Regions from separate parts of the Homo sapiens genome. Here all the other regions are linked to region 3. The links are contacts of gene promoters, found by promoter capture Hi-C in human tissues and cell types (Jung and others, 2019). All regions are on one chromosome and are shown on one strand. The core of a region is centred on a gene start or on the middle of the fragment in contact, and the rest is flanking DNA. Distances in the headings are between cores, read along the strand shown. Region 1 overlaps MYO9B (myosin IXB). Region 2 overlaps MYO9B (myosin IXB). Region 3 holds the start of NWD1 (NACHT and WD repeat domain containing 1).

Evidence for each region. The method cuts DNA at HindIII sites, captures the fragments that hold promoters and counts their contacts. A contact is called where the count stands out against the background at its distance.
Region 1: a fragment that was not itself captured here is called in contact with the fragment with the promoter of NWD1 in region 3 in 7 of the 25 tissues and cell types used here (IMR-90 fibroblasts, bladder, dorsolateral prefrontal cortex and 4 more).
Region 2: a contact is called between a fragment that was not itself captured here and the fragment with the promoter of NWD1 in region 3, in 1 of the 25 tissues and cell types used here (mesenchymal stem cells).

The regions. Positions count from the first base shown.
Region 1 is chr19:17,167,222-17,170,551 of GRCh38, forward strand. MYO9B (myosin IXB) reads left to right here. Exons shown (of 40, transcript NM_004145.4): 11 at 722-843. Among named protein-coding and RNA genes, the nearest start is that of USE1, 46 kb to the right of the region's middle. The HindIII fragment of the contact is 6,459 bases long and covers 1-3,330 here.
Region 2 is chr19:17,078,751-17,081,743 of GRCh38, forward strand. All of the region lies in intron 1 of MYO9B (myosin IXB), which reads left to right. Among named protein-coding and RNA genes, the nearest start is that of MYO9B, 4.5 kb to the left of the region's middle. RefSeq lists a silencer at 897-996 and an enhancer at 1,009-1,546. The HindIII fragment of the contact is 3,543 bases long and covers 1-2,993 here.
Region 3 is chr19:16,718,236-16,721,194 of GRCh38, forward strand. NWD1 (NACHT and WD repeat domain containing 1) reads left to right here and starts at 1,612. Exons shown (of 19, transcript NM_001007525.5): 1 at 1,612-2,058. The HindIII fragment of the contact is 25,691 bases long and covers 1-2,959 here.

The DNA.
Region 1 (3,330 bases), core at 110-2,609, 450 kb after region 3:
GGAGTCTTGCTATATTGCCCGGGCTGGTCTCAAACTCCTGGACTCAAGCCATCCTCCAGCCTCAGTAAAGTATTTTTTACTTTTTATTTTTTGCACAGACAGGATCTTGCTATGTTGTCCAGGCTGGTCTTGAACTCCTGGCCTCAAGCGATCCTACCACCTTGGCCTCTCAGTTACTTTTTATGTCAGTTACATGTTAACATGATCACATTTTGGATATATCATGTTAAATTAAGTGTATTATTAGAGCTATTTTTTTTTTTTTTTTTTTGTGACGGAGTTTCGCTCTTGTTGCCCAGGCTGGAGTAGGACTAATGGCGCAATCTTGGCTCACTGCAACCTCCACTTCCCGTGTTCAAGCGATTTTCCTGCCTCAGCCTCCTGAGTAGCTGGGATTACAGGCTTGTGCAACCACGCCTGGCTAATTTTGTATCTTTAGTAGAGATGGGATTTTGCTATGTTGGTCAGGCTGGTCTCAAACTCCTGACCTCAGGTGATCCACCTGCCTTGGCCTCCCAAAGTGCTGGGATTACAGGCGTGAGCCACTGTGCCCAGCCCTATTAGAGTTAATTTTAAGCCACGCATCAGTTTAAAAAGTTTCCTATTTTGAAGCATTTCAGATTTTCGGATTAGGGATACTCGACCTGTATGCAATATATGTTATGTAGATATTACATATCTGGGAGATAAGAAACTTACCGACCCCGCGCCACCCCTGCAGGAGGAATATCAGGGCGAGGGGATCACGTGGCACAACATCGGCTACACAGACAATGTCGGCTGCATCCATCTCATCAGCAAGAAACCCACGGGCCTCTTCTACCTGCTGGACGAGGAGAGCAAGTGAGTGTCCACACCCCGTCCATCCCGGCACATCTACGCATGGGCACTGGGTCAGGTTCTGCAGCCCCCAGAGCCTTACCCCAAATCCAGACTTTCCCAAGAGCGCCTTTTTATTTTTGAGACAGGGTCTCACTCTGTCACCCAGGCTGGAGTGTAGTGGTGCAATCAAAGCTCACTGCAGCCTTGACCTCCTGGGCTCAAGTGATCCCCTGACGTGAGCCTCTGGAGTAGCTGGGACTACAGGGTCACACCACCATACCCGGCTAATTTTTGTATTTCTTTGTAGCAACAGGGTTTCGTCATGTTTTCCAGGCTGGTCTTGAACTCCTTAGCTCAAGGGATCCTCCCGCCTTGGCCTCCGAGAGTACTGGGATTACAGGCGTGTGCCACCACGCCAGACCTTGTGCTGAGAACTTGTGTCTGTTCATTTCACTTGACCACAAAACCCAAGCTCGTGTGTGCAAAATGCACAAACACCTCATTGTGAAAACATCAACACGTGTGATTAATTCGTGCACTTGAGGCACATCCGCCAGGAGTTTTCAGCAAAGGATTATGGGCCTATGCCTAGAAACTAGACACTGGGGCCAGACGTGGTGGGGCATACCTGTGGCCCCAGCTACTCAGGAGGCTGAGACAGGAGGATCACTTGAGCCTGGGAGGTTGAGGCTGCAGGGAGCTGTGATCGTGTCACTGCACTCCAGCCTGGGCAATGGAGCAAGAGACAGGATTGGCGAGTTGTTACAAAGGGCAGTGCAGTGTGTGGAATTGGGACCCAGATGCTGCTGGGCTCTGGTCTCACTTCTGAGCCTTCCTCCCTCATCCCCACAGTCCACAGGGCGCTGTGAAGGCAGACAGGTCAATAAGGCACCTCATTCTGGGTCACCCAGTTGTAGTCACTGAAATCACGTGACACATACCGAACTACTTTCCTGTGGCTCCTCTAAGGAACCGCTACAAGCCAGGTGGGCTCTTGAGCCCAGGAGATCAAGACCAGCCTGGGCAACACAGAAAGATTCCACCTCGGCCAGGCACAGTGGCTCACGCCTGTAATCCCAGCACTTTGGGAGGCCGAGGCAGGCGGATCACCTGAGGTCAGGAGTTGGAGACCAGCCTGGCCAACATGGTGAAGCCCCGTCTCTACTGAAAATACAAAAATTAGCCGGGCATGGTGACAGGCGCCTGTAATCCCAGCTACTCAGGAGGCTGAGGCAGGAAAATTGCTTGAACCTGGGAGGCGGAGGTTGCAGTGAGCGGAGATCACTCCATTGCACTCCAGCCTGGGTGACAGACCAAGACTCTGTCTCAAAAAAAAAAAAAAAAAAAAAGATTCCATCTCTACAAAAAAATTTTTAACCAGCCTGGCCAACATGGCAAAACCCCATCTCTACTAAAAATGCAAAAATTAGCCAGGCATGGTGGCGGGTGCCTATAATTCCAGCTACTTGGGAGGCTGAGGCAGGAGAATTGTTTGAACCCGGGAGGTGGAGTTCTTAAAACCACAGTAATCTATTCTCTTATGGTTCTGGAAGCTGGAAGTCTAAAGTCAAACTGTCAGCAGAGCTGTGCTGCCTCCAGAGGCTCCAAGGGAGGACCCTTTCTTGCCTCCTCCAGCTTCTAGGGGTCCAAGCTTTCCTTGGCTTTTGGCCACATCACTCCAGTCCCTGCCTCCCTCTTCCTCTTCACATGGACTTCTTCCCTCTGTGTCTGCATCATTCATCTCAATCCTGTCTCCTCCTTTTTTTTTTTTTTTTTTTTTTTTTTTTTGAGACAGGCTCTTCTTGCTCTGTTGCCCAGGCTGGAGGGTAGTGGCGCCATCTTGGCTCAAGTTAATTGGCGTCATCTCAGCTCACTGTAACCCCCACCTCCCAGGATCAAGCGATTCTCGTGTCTCAGCCTCCCGAGTAGCTGGGATCACAGGTGCCTTGCCACCATGCCCAGCTAATTTTTGTATTTTTAGTAGAGATGGGGTTTTTTCACCATGTTGGCCAGGCTGCTTAAAAATTTTTTTTTGTAGAGATGGAATCTCCCTGTATTGCCCAGGCTAGTCTTGAACTCCTGGGCTCAAGCAGTCCTCTCACCTTGACCTCCCAAAGTGCTGGGACCATAGGTGTGAGCCATTACACCTGACCCTGTCTTCTGTTTTTAGAAGGACACCATCCATATGGAACTAGGTCCCACGCTAATGACCTCATCTTAACTAATTACATCTCCAAAGACCCTATTTTCCAAATAAGGTCACATTCAAAAGTTGGTGGTATGGGGTTAAGATATGGACATATTGTCTTATCAGCAGCTCTATCAGACCCATCCCTTGCCAATGACATCTCCAAGGGGCTGGCCAGAGACTCAAATGAATGAGGCACATCCCCTGCCTCAAACCTAGTCCCTGTCCAGGTCAGGGAGACAGACACATCCCTCTGAGGCTGGGGTCCAGGTAGAGAATGTTCAGATAAGAGCATTTGTGCCAGGTGCGGTGGCTCCCAC
Region 2 (2,993 bases), core at 53-2,552, 360 kb after region 3:
ATTGCACAAGCAGATACCTTTGAAGCCCGGCCTGTACAGGGCATCCCAGCTCTCTCATTCTGCCAACCGGCAGTGCGAGGGTCCTTGTTCTTATCTTCCTGATACAGAAACAGGCCCAGGCAGGTGATGACTTCAGAGATGGTTCCTTGAGCTTTCTAGAAACATGCAGGATCCTTAGTAACCTTTAACTGGGGAAACCCAAATCTCCAGGGCCGTTTCTCACCCGCATCACCATTGACAGTTGGGGCTGTGCACTGTAGAATGTGGAATAGTGTCCCTGGCTGTCACCCATGAGATGCCAGTAGTATTCCATCCCCTCCAAGGGGTAACAACTGAAAATGACTCCAGCCATGGCCACGTGTCCCCTGGGGGCAGAATCACCTCCCCCGCCAGGTGAAATGTGATGCTCATTAGTAAAACCTGGTTCCCCTCTAGGGCCCATCATTGCCTTGGTGGGTCCTTGGTGTTTGTGGAGCCCCTGAGGAACTGCCACTAAGAGTGGGAACAGGGGCAGAGACCAGGAACTGAATCCTGCCATCCAGTCAGTTCTTAATCAGGAGGGAGCGGGTCTTGATAAAAAGGAGGAACCGTTAGGAACGGACTGTGGGAGGGTAGGCAACGTGCCCGAGGGTGGACAGCGGGTGCCCTTGTCTTTTCTTTGTCTTGTGACTGACCTGGATTTCTGGAGGAACTGTCCTCGTCTTAGAATGATCTGTTGCTTTTCTTCTGAGATTAGAGGTATTAGATTCTCTCCCAAGAGCTACTTTGGAGGTTGCCCCGGATAAACGTCGCTTTTGTAAGCTGCATTATCTCTTCCATGGGCCCTTTCGCCCGCCCGTTCCCAAGCACATACTGCTGAATTTTTGTTCTTGGTCCATCTTGCTGTCCCCTTCCCTGCTTGGCCCCCTCCTTGACCGTGACTTTGCTGCTTTACCTTGATTGGAGGAGACGCTCTGGGGCCACGGGACTGACGGTCCCTTCTGGGTGCTGCCCCCACACCCCACCCACCAGCCCTTTGTGTGCCCGGCATCCCCAGCCCAGCTGTGCCAGGCTGCCCCTGCTCGGCCGGCCATTCAGACGGCCCCAGGCGGCCTCTCGGCAAAGCAAGACAAGCCCTTCTCTTCTGCCCTCGTGGTCCCTGGAGTGGCAGAACAAAGGGCTCTGTCTCCACACCAGCCCACCGCCGCAGCCCAGAGCCCCGTTCCCTTTCAATTTCTATCGTGGCTGGGAAAGAGCCTCAGAGATTAGGCATGTTTCAGAAATGCAGCTGACGAGTTTGGGTTCTACTCATTTCCTCAGCGAGACTTTCTGAGCCCGAGCCCGATGATAAATAAAGTAGTGATTCAAGGGTTCAGCCCATGGGTTCGTCGGAGTGATGAATAAGATATCCTTGTCTGACTCACTTGTTTAAAACCCATCTCTGCCCTGCTGCACAGGGCTGTATGTGCAAGAGAAGGAGCCCCGCTAGGGGTGTTTCATGACTGTTGTTGCTGGGTGCCTGAGTTTGCTAGGGCTGCTGTAACAGAACCGCACGCTGGGTGGCCAGAACGACAGAAGTATATTGGCTTGCAGTTCTAGAGGCCAGACGTTTAAGATCACATTCAAGATCAAGGTGTTGGCAGGGTTCGTGCCTTCGGAGGGCTGTGAGAATCTGTTCCACGCCTCTCTCTGTTGGCTCATACATAGCCGTCTTCCCCTGGGTCTTCACATCGTCCTCCCTCTGTGCCTGTCTCTGTGTCCAAATTTCCTCTTATGAGGACAGCAGTCATATGGAAGGGGGCCCACCCTAATGACATCATTTTAACTGAATCATCCCCATAAAGACCCTGTCTCTAGGCGAGGCTTGGTGGCACACGCCTGTAATCTCAGCCCTTTGGGAGGCTGAGGCAGGAGGATCACTTGAGGCCAGGAGTTTAAGACCAGCCTGGACAACATAGCAAGATCCCATCTCTACAAAAAAATACTAAAATTAGCTAGACATGATGGTGAATGCCTGTGGTCCCAGCACTTTAAGAAGCTGAGACAGACAGATCGCTTGAGCCTGGGAGTTTGAGGCTACAGTGAGCTATGATCATGGCACTGCATTCCAGCCTGGGTGACAGAACGACACCCCCATCTCTTAAAAAAAAAAAAAATCCCAAATATACTCATACTCTGAAGTTCTGAGGTTTAGGATTTCAATATGTGAATATTTCTTTGTGGAGGGGAGTGGTGGACACAGCTCAGCCCATAATACTGAGAAAAGGACAAATTCAAATTACATTTTTATTTATTTGTTTATTTATTTTGGGGGCGGGGGCAGAGTCTCACTCTGTCACCCAGGCTGGGGTGCAGTGACGCGATCTCAGCTCACTGCAACCTCTGTCTCCCAGGTTCAAGTGATTCTCCTGCCTCAGCCTCCCGAGTAGCTGGGACTACAGGCGTGCGCCACCACGCCCAGCTACTTTTTGTATTTTTAGTAGAGATGGGCTTTCATTGTGTTGACCAGGCTGGTCTTAAACTCCTGACATCAGGTGATCAGCCCGCTCGGACTCCCAAAGTGCTGGGATAACAGATGTGAGCCACCGTGCCCGGCCTCAACTTACATTTTTAGATAATATAGGAACCTGGAGGGAAATGATCGTGTCAATAGAGAATAGGTCCATTTTGTCTCTTCTCACTCCTTTAAATAAACACTTTAAGGGTGAGCAGGTTGGTTGGCCACATCAATTTTGGACGCTCCCTGTTTTCCAGATCTCACACTCATACATTCAGGGGTGACTAAAGAGAGGTGAGAGGCCTGGTGCAGTGGCTTACGCCTGTAATCCCAGCACTTTGGGAGGCCGAGGTGGGAGGATCACCTAAGGTCAGGAGTTTGAGACCAGCCTGGCCAACATGATGAAACCCAGTCTCTACTAAAAATACAAAAATTAGCTGGGTGTAGTGGCACACACCTGTAATCCCAGCTGCTTGGGTGGCTGAGGCAGAAGAATTGCTTGAACCCAGGAGGCAGA
Region 3 (2,959 bases), core at 362-2,861:
GTAATCTCTGCTCACTGCAACCTCTGCCTCCCAGGTTTAAGTGATCCTCCTGCCTCAGCCTCCCAAGTAGCTGGGATTACAGGCACCTGCCACCATGCCTGGCTAATTTTTGTTTTTAGTAGAGATGGGGTCTCACCATATTGGCCAAGCTGGTCTCAAATTCCTGACCTCAGGTGATTTGCCCACCTCGGCCTCCCAAAGTGCTGGGATTACAGGCATGAGCCACCGCGCCTGACCAAGTATCTGAAACTTCTATCCCTGAAAATATAGTAACACTATTATTATTACTTTTTCTTTGAGATGGAGGCTTGCTCTGTCGCCCAGGCTGGAGTGCAGTGGCGCAATCTCGGCTCACTGCAAGCTCCACCTCCCAGGTTCATGCCATTCTCCTGCCTCAGCTTCCTGAGTAGCTGGGACTACAGGTGCAAACCACCACGCCCAGCTAATTTTTTGTTTTTTGTTTTTTGTTTTTTATGTAGAGACAGGGTTTCACCATGTTAGCCAGGATGGTCTTGATCTCCTGACCTCGTGATCTGCCTGCCTTGGCCTCCCAAAGTGCTGGGATTACTGGCGTGAGCCACCATGCCTGGGTGACTTGTGAGTTTTTGAGACAAAGTCTCGCTCTGTCACCCAGGCTGGAGTGCAGTGGTGCGATCTCGGCTCACTGCAAGCTCCACCTCCCGGGTTCATGCCATTCTCCTGCCTCAGCTTCCTGAGTAGCTGGGACTACAGGTGCAAACCACCACGCCCAGCTAATTTTTTGTTTTGTTTTGTTTTGTTTTTTTTGTAGAGACGGGGTTTCACCGTGTTAGCCAGGATGGTCTTGATCTCCTGACCTCGTGATCTGCCTGCCTTGGCCTCCCAAAGTGCTGGGATTACTAGCGTGAGCCACCATGCCCGGGTGATTTGTGAGTTTTTGAGACAAAGTCTTGCTCTGTCGCCCAGGCTGCAGTGCAGTGGCAGGATCTCGGCTCATTGCAACCTCCAACTCCCAGGTTCAAACAATTCTTGTGCCTCAGCCTCCCAAGTAGCTGGGATTACAGGCATGCGTCACCACGCCCAGCTAATTTTTCTATTTTTAGTAGAGATAGGGGTCTCACCATATTGGCCAGTCTGGTCTTGAATGCCTGACCTCAGGTGATCCGCCTGCCTCGGCCTCCCAAAGTGCTGGGATTACAGGCATGAGCCACCGTGCCCGGTCTTGGAGTTTTAATGGTAATTAATCATGGCTAACATCTCACGGGCCCTTCCTGTGATGTAGGTGTAGTGTTAGTCTCACTCTCTATATAAATGCTTTTCATTGTCTCACCAACACAGGAAGTTAGTGAGAAAATTCAAGTGCAGAGTAGTGAAGCGTCACAGGCAAGGGACTTCACCTTTCTGCATCTTGTTTTCTTCATCTGTGAAACAGGATCATAATGTCTGTCTCTTGGGGTAATAATGTGGACTGCTAATGCCAAATGCCAACCAACTGCACCTCCTAGACTGTCAGCAAATGGCATCTTTTACGAGGAGCCGTATCAGCCTGGCACACAATAGTTAACCACTAAGTCTGGGCTGAATGCCCGGCTAAGCTGGTGCCCTAGTGCAAACAATCGCTTTCATTATCCCAGTTGCTGGGAGAATTGGGCAAGGAGAGACCCATAAAATACCTAAGACGAAAGTTACTAGGATAGCCAGGGGCTTGTCTTCCGGGTGGCGCCGAGGCCAGGAAACTGTCCTCTCTAACCTATTTCCCCAGAGGAGTCTAAATTGGTCGTTCAACTACCAGCAAAGGCTAAAGAGAGGCTGGAGCCCCCAGGACAGCCAGAACGCTGACACTGCAAAGGGCCTCTGTCCTTACTGGGGAAGCCCAGTCCTGCTCAGCTGTCTTCTTCAGCAACAAACAGAAGTCCAGAAAGAGAAACAGTTGTGGAGGAAGCTGTTGTGATGATAATTTACTGAGCACCTACTATGTGCCAGGCACGCCAGCCTTACCAGACAAGATCCTTGGGCTCATGGAATTCACTTTCTCGTGGGACAGACAAACAATAACATGTAGAAACATATCAGCTGTTGGTGAGTACCATGCAGAAAATTAAAATAAGGCGATGGCATTGGGAGTGACTTAAGGGGTCACTACGCAATGGGATGGTCAGAGACAGCCTCTCAGGAGGAGGTAGCATTGAAGCTAAAATGTGAACAACATGAACAGATGCAGCATAGAGCACTAAAGTACAGGACGTGCAAAGGCCCTGAGGTTGAAATAAGCTAAATGCATTAGACTAGGGGGTTCTCGAGTAAGGGGAATTCTGCCCCCTAGGGGACATTGCAATGTCTAGGGAGACTTTTTTTTTTTTGAGACGGAGTCTCGCTCTGTCACTAGGCTGGAGTGCAGTGGCGTGATCTCAGTTACTGCAAGCTCTGCCTCCCAGGTTCACACCATTCTCCTGCCTCAGCCTCCTGAGTAGCTGGGACTACAGGTGTCCGCCACATGCCCGGCTAATTTTTTGTATTTTTAGTAGAGACGGGGTTTCACCGTGTTAGCCAGGATGGTCTCGATCTCCTGACCTCATGATCTGCCCTCCTCGGCTTCCCAAAGTGCTGGGATTACAGGCGTGAGCCACCGCACCTGGCCGAGACTTTTTCTTTTTGAGATGGAGCCTTGCTCTGTTGCCCAGGCTGGAGCGCAGTGGCACGATCTCGGCTCACTGCAACCTCTGCTTCCCGGGTTCAAGCGATTCTCCTGCCTCAGGCTTCCGAGTAGCTGGGATTACAGGTACATGCCACCGCGCCAGCTAATTTTTGTATTTTTAGTAGAGATGGGGTTTCGCCATGTTGGCCAGGCTGGTCTCGAACTCCTGGCCTCAAGTAATCTGCCTGTTTTGGCCTCTCAAAGTGCTGGGATTAGAGGTGTGAGCCACTGCACCCAGCCTAGGGATACTTTTTAATTGTGACGACTTTGGTGGTGGTGGTGGGG